2 separate regions of the Homo sapiens genome follow, and region 2 is linked to region 1. The links are contacts of gene promoters, found by promoter capture Hi-C in blood cells and fetal thymus (Javierre and others, 2016). All regions are on one chromosome and are shown on one strand. The core of a region is centred on a gene start or on the middle of the fragment in contact, and the rest is flanking DNA. Distances in the headings are between cores, read along the strand shown.

The links. The method cuts DNA at HindIII sites, captures the fragments that hold promoters and counts their contacts. A CHiCAGO score of 5 or more calls a contact.
Region 2: a contact is called between a fragment that was not itself captured here and the fragment with the promoter of PRELP in region 1, in 1 of 17 cell types (endothelial precursors). The highest score is 6.4, in endothelial precursors.

What each region holds. Positions count from the first base shown.
Region 1 is chr1:203,474,414-203,478,836 of GRCh38, reverse strand. It overlaps PRELP (proline and arginine rich end leucine rich repeat protein), which reads right to left and starts at 3,031. Exons shown (of 3, transcript NM_002725.4): 1 at 2,899-3,031. The HindIII fragment of the contact is 1,499 bases long and covers 2,668-4,166 here.
Region 2 is chr1:203,052,396-203,057,015 of GRCh38, reverse strand. It overlaps PPFIA4 (PPFI scaffold protein A4), which reads right to left. Exons shown (of 30, transcript NM_001304331.2): 15 at 3,055-3,263; 16 at 1,344-1,584; 17 at 861-896; 18 at 508-641; 19 at 66-232. Among named protein-coding and RNA genes, the nearest start is that of PPFIA4, 28 kb to the right of the region's middle. RefSeq lists enhancers at 964-1,715, 1,716-2,467. The HindIII fragment of the contact is 5,243 bases long and covers 548-4,620 here.

The DNA of each region.
Region 1 (4,423 bases), core at 1,782-4,281:
GTGGTCCTGAGATAACAAAGGAGCCTTATGGGGGCATGATGACTTCAAGATGCCCCTTTCTAGGAAGGTGAAACGATACAAGGATGAGCTTGCCTGGGGCAGTGGGAGGAGAGCCTGTGGTGCATACTAGTTAGGAGAGAAGATTCTCACCCCTCCACCACTACCTAGTGATGCGAACCCTGTTCTGGGCCTCAGTTTTCTTATCTGTAAAATGGGAATAAAAAAATCTTCCCTATACCTATATTCCTTACCCAATTGTCAGAAGCAAGTGCAGTTAGCAGCTTTAAAATGCACTACAGATCAAAAAGTGCTAAAAATAAAAATAACACTATTATGGAGAGACCATCTGTCTCCCCAGTGTCTACCACAAGGCAAAGTGTAAACAGAATGAAGATTTTCTGGCCTCAGGCCACTAGTTTAGAAGAGAAAGTTTTCCATTCTGAGCGGTGGGGAAGAAACCAGGGTGAGACGACTCTTCTCTGACAGCCCGCCACCTACCATATCCTCTGCCCCATTCCCCCAGCATCTCCAAGCCTTGAAGAAAGCCTAGAAGAGTGTGTCTGATGCCTTGAGTGATTATAGATCTGAGACCCAATCCTGCAGTTCTTCATTCAGATGCTTAGCTAGGTAGGCTTAGGCAAAGCAATTGCTTTTCTGCTCTATAAAATGGGGATACTAACACCTTCTTTTCTGTTTTGAGGGTTAAATGAGTTAATACATGCAAAGTGAGTGTTTTCTGAATGTTAAGGTCTTGTTGATATTATTTCAAAGTAATGGGGTCTCCTTCCCTCCAGCCTGGCTAGAGGGCAGCCCCCATGCACTGCTCGAAGGCAGGGATCCTTGTGAGTGGGGTACCAGCTCTTCCACACAGAGCAACTTCCTCCCCTTTGTGGCTTGTGAGATCACACTTGGGTCTCAGAAACAACTAACTGAGGAGACTCTGGAAGTCCCCAGCCACCTAGGGAAAGCTTGTTCTGTCTTTCTAATTCACCAACTTCTCACCGATGCTTTCTGCAACAGGTGAGGGGACACTGGCCACAGAAGGTGCAAGTCTGCCTTCCTCAGTGGGCCATGGAGTTCCACTGCGATTCTTGACTTCTCCCAGCTTTTTGCCCCTTCCAGCCTTGAAATGCTTCACTCACATGCCCAATAAATGGGATTGCCCACTAGGGAGGTGGAGGGGGCATGAAGAAAGTGTTCAGCTCACCCTCTGTGAGAGCCCAGACAGGTGGCTGCTGGGAAGGAGGAGCAGGGACCTATAAGGGTCAGGGGAAGGGCCCAGCACATGCTCCTGGGGTCCTGGGGCAGGCAGATTAACAGGTGAGGGGAAACAGAAGCTCTGTGGAGCCATCTTGGGGGAACTTTCTTACTGGAATGTTCCTCTGTGGTATATATGGCTGCTTGTGCTTGCAAGGAGGAGAGAGGGAGACAGCTCTTCCCTGTTTACTCCCACTCCCCAAAAAAGAGGTGGCCTATTTGGGACACTCTGGTGCTCCTTTTCCAGGACACAGTCCTTCTGCCCAGCTAACACTGCCGGAGTCTTGGGCTTAAAAATTACAGCAAAGCTCTCTCTCAGGCCCCTGATTCTCGAGCCCTGGTGGACCATCAGAATCTCCTGAAGTATTAAAACAAGATTCCTGGGTCTCGATTCAGTAGATCTGCAGTGAGAGCCGACATCTGTATTTTTAGTAAGCCCTCCACACTCCTCCCTCTCCAGCCCTTAGGTGACTGTGAAGATCAGCTGTGTGTGGGACCCCTGATCTCCCTACACCCCGCCTGCCTTGGGACAGACCCTCTCTATTAATAGAGAGGAATGAGCAGGGGAGCAGGAGAGGGGCCGCCCTTCAGTTTTCCCCTCCCCAACTGCTTAAGGAACTGCTGCCTTTTTTTTTTTTTCTCCTCTGCCACAGGACCTTTTGCCAACCTAAATGGTTGGAATAATTTCAGAACGGCTTTAAAGAAAAATATTTTTCTGGCTGCCTGCAGGAAAAAAAAATAAAAAAATGAACTGTCCCCAGAGCTGGGAATTAGGACCTTCAAGGATTGGGAACTGGGTCGCTTTCTTCTTTCTTTCCAAAAGCCAAGTGGTTTGGACCAGTGAGACAGAAATTGAAAGCTGCTGAGAAGACACTGTGCAGGTTGGAAAAAGCCGTTTTTCTCTCCCTCCTACCCAGTGAAGCCCTAAATAATGAAGAAACCCTTCCAGCTCCCGCTCTTGCTTATCTCCTCCCTATTCGGCCTGGACTTGGGATGCAAGATTTTCTTCTGGCTCTGCCATCTCAGTGGGAAAACGTACTTTATCTTTGCTCTTACAGCTAGGGAGGTGTGTGTGAGAGGGCGAGAGACAAGATGCAGGGAACATGTGTGCATGCATGTGTGTGTGTGTCTGCTGGTGTCTGGTGATGATGTGGTCTAGCTCTGCATGTCAGATGCAGAGGGCAGAGGTGAATGGACAGGATGTCTTCATTTTGTATGGTCGTGTGGGGTGATGGTAGTGAACGTGCAGCCTCCGTGTGATGTGTGTGACTTCCACAATGTGTGACAATACACAAAAGGTGCAAAGAAATGGGTTCTGGAGTCCAGTTTCTATGGAAACACCTGATCTGTAGAAACACTTTGTGCAGCGTGGCTCTCTGTGCTACAACAAACATCTGCAGCAGGAAAGCTTAACTTTTGCAGTAAGCAAATATAGGGGTACAGAGTGATGAAAAGAAAAGGAAGAGGCTATAGGAAAGAAGTTAGGAAGACTAAATTTGAACTCATTTGAGAGGAGAAAGAGGTGGGAGGAAGGAAGGAGTGAGAGGATAGAGACTAGATCAATAAATGGACAGAGCTGGAGGAAACTTACTGGATGAAAGATTCTTCCCAGTCTCCTGCCCATCTCCCAACTGGGCTTACCTGCACACACCTGCCTCTCCTCTCAGCTCTGAGTTTAGTCCTCCTCTTCCACCCCCTCCCTTCGGCGGAGCTGTGGCAGCAGAGAGCCAGCTAGAAGATCTGATCTCCCAGTGGTGTGTGCGTGCTTGTGTTTGCCTGACTTTTCTTCCACCAGATCCTATTGGGGTGGGGAGGTTAGCTTGGGGGGAGGGAGGGGCAGATCATAGGGAGGGAGGGGAGGAGAGGAGGGAGGAGGGAGGGAGGGGAGGGGAGGAGAGAGGGAGGGAGCTTGGGAAAGGAGGAATGACAATAAAGTCTTTATTTGGCAGCCAAAACTCCCAAAGACTTCATCCACACACCATTCCCACTAACAGACTCATTTTTAATAACATTTCCTTCTGCTGCTGCCGCTTCTGGAGAGGGGTTGTTTGACCCATGTTTGGAAAACAAGCCAAATTAACAGAGTGAAAAGGCATGAAAAGCAACCTCTGTGTAAGCCAGGACTGGATGGCTGGGTCCAGCACTAGCCTGTTTAATTCCTCCTAACAATCGCCTTGCCTTCTGGGGCCGTTGCTCGGTAGTGTTAAATTCCTAAACCAGTGAGGGGTTTGGGATGCTTCCTCTGAGCAGTGACAGTCTTTCCCTAAGTTATCTTCTCCAGGAGGTTGCAAAGGGAGTGGAGTCTCAGGCTGGCATAGGAGATAACTTCGGTTTGGCTGCCAGGGCTGTTCTGAGAACCAGAGAGGGAGAAGTCTGGCCTGAGTTGCACAGCAAAGTTAAGGCAGAATTAAGATTTAATGTAAGACCTAAAGTCACTGTTCCTAGCTCATGTGGACAATGTAGTGGCTTCTTTCAGCTTCTCCATATCACACTTAGGTGAGATTTAGGGGCTGTGTGGTCATCACACAAAGTGATGGGAAATCCAAATTTCCCCTGTGCACATCAACACCCCAGAAGACCCAGTCAAGTAACACCACTACCTCTAACAATCCTCTAACAATGCCCCTCAATTAAGAAAGCACAACACACTTGCAGGTAAGTAGATGCCCATCAAAATTTCCTGCCATGGCCAGGCACAGTGGCTCACGCCTGTAATCCCAGTACTGTGGGAGGCAGAGGCAGGCGGATCACCTGAGGTCAGGAGTTTGAGGCCAACCTGGCCAACATGGTGAAACCCTGTCTGTACTAAAAATACAAAAAAATTAGCTGGGTGTGGTGGCGGGCATCTGTAGTCCCAGCTACTAGGGAGGCTGAGGCAGGAGAATTGCTTGAACCTGGGAGGCAAAGCTTGCAGTGAGCCAAGATCGTGCCACTGCACTCCAGCCTGGGCAACAAGAGCGTGACTCTGTCTCAAAAAATAAATAAGTAAATAAAATAAATAAATTCCTGCCATCCCAGCTGACTACTTAGAAAATGCAACGCAATTTTCTTCTCCATTATTGGTTCCATGGAGAGCTGCAGAGCCCCATGACAGGGGACTGCCTGCCTGCCCTCCGCAATATGGGGTAGAGGAGAGAACATTAAAATTAGGGTCTGCAGCCCTGGG
Region 2 (4,620 bases), core at 1,920-4,419, 420 kb after region 1:
GTACACCTTCCTGCTTCTGATGCCCCAATGCCCGCCCAGACCTCCGTTAGGAAGGGGACAGAGACCATGGCCTGTGGCTCCATCCCGACTCAGCTGGATCAGCCTGCCCTTCTCCTTCTTCCCAAACAGGCGGCCAATGGACGACTTGATGCCCTTGCGCTTGGCGCCCTTGTGCAGGGAGTCCTGGCTGCTGTTGCTGCTGCTGGGGTTGCTGCCCTGATCCTCCAAGGCACTACAGGGTGACAGCCAGAAGGGGGCGGAATAAGAAGAAACATACTTAAGTGACAGCAGGAAAGATGGAAGTTAGACCTCAGGAAGAACTTCTATTAAGTCAGAACTGGGATGGGGGAAAAGGAGACACATGAACTCCCTTCCCTGATGGTGTTTCAAAGAGAAGTAAGACATTCAGAAACTGGGACAGGGGAGATGCGGTCCCTGCAGAGGCAGAGGAAGGGAGGAGAGGACCCTGTGGATGGAGAGACTGGAGGTGGGGTCTGCTCTACTTACCTCTTGCCTTCTTCCTGGCTCAGGGCTGGGTGGCCAAGCTTCTCTAGCCGCAGCGTCCTGGGTGAGGAAGGAGGAGAAGTCTCACATTTTATGGTGGCTTTATCCTCTCGGTTCTCTTCCCGAGACACTGGCGACTGAACAGACAGTGGAGCCGTCAGGGGATAGAGGGAGAGATCTCGGGCCTGCCTACCCAGCCCAGAAGAGGTGGCGGAGCATGGAGAAATGCAGTGGGGAGGCCCTGGGTGCCTCTCTGAGTTCAGACTCAGACTCAAGGGCCCTGGGGGAGGAAGCTGAAAGGAAAGGGCATGGGAGCAGTGAACCCGTTAGTACCTGGGCCATCAGGCAGCACTCACCAGCAGCTTCCTCCTATGCTTTCTTAAGTCACTGGGCTGCAAGAGAGAGGGATGGGTAAGCTCAGACTCACCCTCTGGGTGCCCTAGAGCCAACCCCAGGGGAGCCCAGTGGTCTTAGGATGAGAAGATAGGATTCAGTGCCTCACACAGGCCCGGAGAGAATATCACGCCAGAAAAAAAAAAAAAAGCTGGCCTAGAAAAACAAGCCAGGGCTTATTTCTCTGGAAGAAAGGAAGAGGTGAGGGCAGTGGGTGAGTTTCTTAAGCAGTCTGGGCTCATCCAAGGGAGAGGGCAAAGAAGATATGACCTAGGCCCTTCCCAAACCCAGAAGGACAGGCTGGTGGCCTGACATGTCGGGGTCTGCACACACCATGGGAAGAAGATGGCAGGCCCAGCTGAGAGCACGTGAGTCCTACCATCCCTTAAAACCTCCCCCGGTGCAGGGTCCAGTGATGCCAGGCCTGCTCCTCAGCTGCCTCTCACCAGGGTCATGACCCCCATTCGGTCCAGGTCCTGGGCAGCACTGCGGGAGGTGAGCTTAGGTGTGGAGCGGCCGCTGAGTGGTGGGGACGCGCTGGCCAGGGACAGGGCCGTCAGAGAGGTGGGGATGGAACCACGCTTGCGCAGCTGCTTCAGGTTTAGGGCTTCCATGCTGCCACTGGTTACACGCGTCTCAATCTCCTCCGCGCGGAGCTCCGTGGACTCCTTCTCTTCCTGAATCATCCTGGAAGGGAGGCAAAACCAGACCTCACCACTAGCCCCAGCCAGGACCAGCAGGAGGCAGTGCGGGTCGATGCCTGCACTCGCCACCAAGGACCACATGCGGTGTACACCCGCCAGGCTTTGTCTGTCCCACTGGAGCTTAGAAACACATCTCTTTCTTGTTAGCTTGCCTACTCCCTCCGTTTAACAAAAGCAGCTGCTGGGGAAGGAGGCACTTTCGTCAGTGGAACATAAACCATCCTGAAAATCAGAATTCTTGACATACCCCTAACTATAGGGTGGCCTTGAGTCAGGTATTTTGCTGTCTGTGCCTCAGTTTCCCAACATATGCTATGTCTGAAGTGGTATAAGTCAGCAGTTTCCAAGTGTAGGACTTTTAAATGATGCTGACCCCTGGTGGGGTTTTCCCTGTTCCACAGAAAAATGAGAGAAATAATAAAAATGGTACACGTGTGTGCCTGGGAGGCACTCAGCAAGGAGTGCATGCACACGCACACACACACACTCTCTCACACACACATGCTCCAGTAAAGATGCCCACTCCCTTTCACAAAGAAGGACTCGCCTTTATTCTGAGTATGTCTTTCTTACTTCAGGAATGTTAAAATGTCCTTTCTTTTGCAAAATGATTGCGATAATAGATAGTCATTATCATTAATGTTTTACTTTGCAAAATAAAAAGCTGGTGGTCCTACGTTTGTACCTTTCTCTCTCTCTCTCTGTGTGTGTATGTGTGTGTGTGTGTGTGTGTGTGTGTGTGTCTTCTTTGTAACTGGTCTGTGCAATACATTGAACCATTGAACTGGATGTCCTGTACAGCTTATAAAGCTCTGATACACTCCAGCTCAGATATTGCCCTGCTGTTTGTCATTAACATTAATAAACTCATTAAAAAGGCAGGACAAAGTGAAGGTTTTCACAACGTTCCCTGTCACTGTTTCTGTTTGATGCCTTATTAGGGACAGGAGGCATGGTGCAGTGGGCCAAGTTCAGACTTGAGTTTGAATCCTGGCTCTGTCACTTCTGTGTGGCTTTGGGCAAGTCACTTAACCTCTCTGAGTTTCTGTTCCCTTGTCTGTAAAACAGGGATCATGCTGCCTACCTCAGGCACTGTGGTAAGATGGACAGTGACATTTACAAAGCTCTCACCCTGAGCTAGCCTCAGTAAGCAGGAGCTACACTCTTAGTGGTTAAGATCAGCTGCAGGGCTGCAGGAACACAGCATGCATCCTCCTGAGCCCAGCCACATCGCAAGCCCTGAGAGGGGAGGTGAAGCCTGAGAAGTCCACTGAGGCCCTGCTCCTCTCACTCCGGCACTGGCAGCGGGCCTGATGACCCACAGAGGGTCCCTGAACTGTGGTACTCTAAGTTGCAGCTATAAGAGTTGGGCAAACCCATATAGGGTTTTTCCAACACAAAGGGCCCCCCTGCCCTTCAATGCACTTCCCAAGCCCTCCAGCCCTGCCCTAACCTGATTTCCTCATTGATGGCATCCAGCTGCTCCTGCAGCATCATGGCCAGGGTCTGGGCATCTGAGTGGCCGCTGGGGGAGACAACATCCGCAGAGCCCACCAGACCCCCTGGCTCATCCTCATCCACGTCGGAGATCTCAGGGTCACTGTCAAAGGCAGGGCCAGCTGCCGGGGCCAGCATCCCAGGCAGTGGAGAAGTCTCCCAGTCCTTAGCAAAGGAGGAGGGTAAAGGAGTCGTAATAAGACACCCAGATAACTGCAGAGCAGGACCCTCCCTACCTCTACCCACCAGCACTGGCATCTCCTGGGAGCTTGCTGGAAATGCAGAATCTCAGGCCGCACCACCAGACCTACTGATTCAACATCTGCATTTTAACAAGACCCCTGGGTGGTTTTTTGGTTTTTGGTTTTTGGTTTGTTTGTTTTTTGAGATGGAGTCTCCCTCTGTCACCCAGGCTGGAGGGCAGTGGCGTGATCTCGGCTCACTGCAACCTCCGCCTCCCAGGTTCAAGCAATTCTCCTGCCTCAGACTCCCGAGTAGCTAGGATTACAAGCGCACGCCACCACGCCCGGCTGATTTTTTGTATTTTAGTAGAGACGGGGTTTCACCATGTTGCCCAGGCTGGTAGTGAACTTCTGAGCTCAAGCAATCCACCCACCTCAGCCTCCCAAAGTGCTGGGATTACAAGCGTGAGCCACCGTGCCCGGCTGACCCCTGGGTGATTTGTTTGCACATTACAGTCTAAGAAATACTGCTCTAACTGTTAAGAAGAGAATCCAGAGAGAGACGGCTTTGGTTTGAATCTCATCTCCACCAAACACTAGTTGTGCAACCATAGGAACATTTTTTAACCTCTCTGTGCCTCAGTTTCTTCATCTGTAAAATAGGGATGGTAAAGTACTTACCTCATAGATAGCTGTGAGGATCAAATGAGGAAAATACATGTAAAGCCCTTAGCACTGTGCCTGGCACAAAGCAAGCACTACATAAATGCTATCAGTTTCCATCCATACAAACTCAAAGGCTGACTACACCCAGAGAACAGAAAGGCCAAGCAGGCCTGAATAGACAGTCTGCAGAGTTTCAGATCATCACAGGACAGTCTGGTCAACCCTGAGAGGCGGCAGCTTCTCTGAAATCATCCTACAAACCTATCCAGCGGACAAAGGCCCAGAAGAGGGGAGGGTGGAGAACAGAAGAGTAGAGAAGGAAGGAAGGGAGCCAGGGACAGAAAGGTACTCTAACACCCATCCTCTATGACCCAAGCCCCCTAGCTCCCCTTCAGGCTCCTGCAGCCTCTCAGCTCCTGGATAGCTGCTATATTCTTATAAACAGAAAGAGCAAAGAAGTCGGGGGAGAAAGAAAAAGAGGCACCTTCAGACTGTGACTCCCCCATCGGACTGAGGATTTCTTAAGGGCAGAGTGAATCTTCCCCTGAGACTAGGAGTTCCCTCTTTCTCCATCTATATCTTCTAATACCCCAGTGCTCTAAATGATATTTAGAGGACCTGGATTCAGGACAGAGCATGACGAATAATTGCACTTTCCCAAAAGATCAAACTCG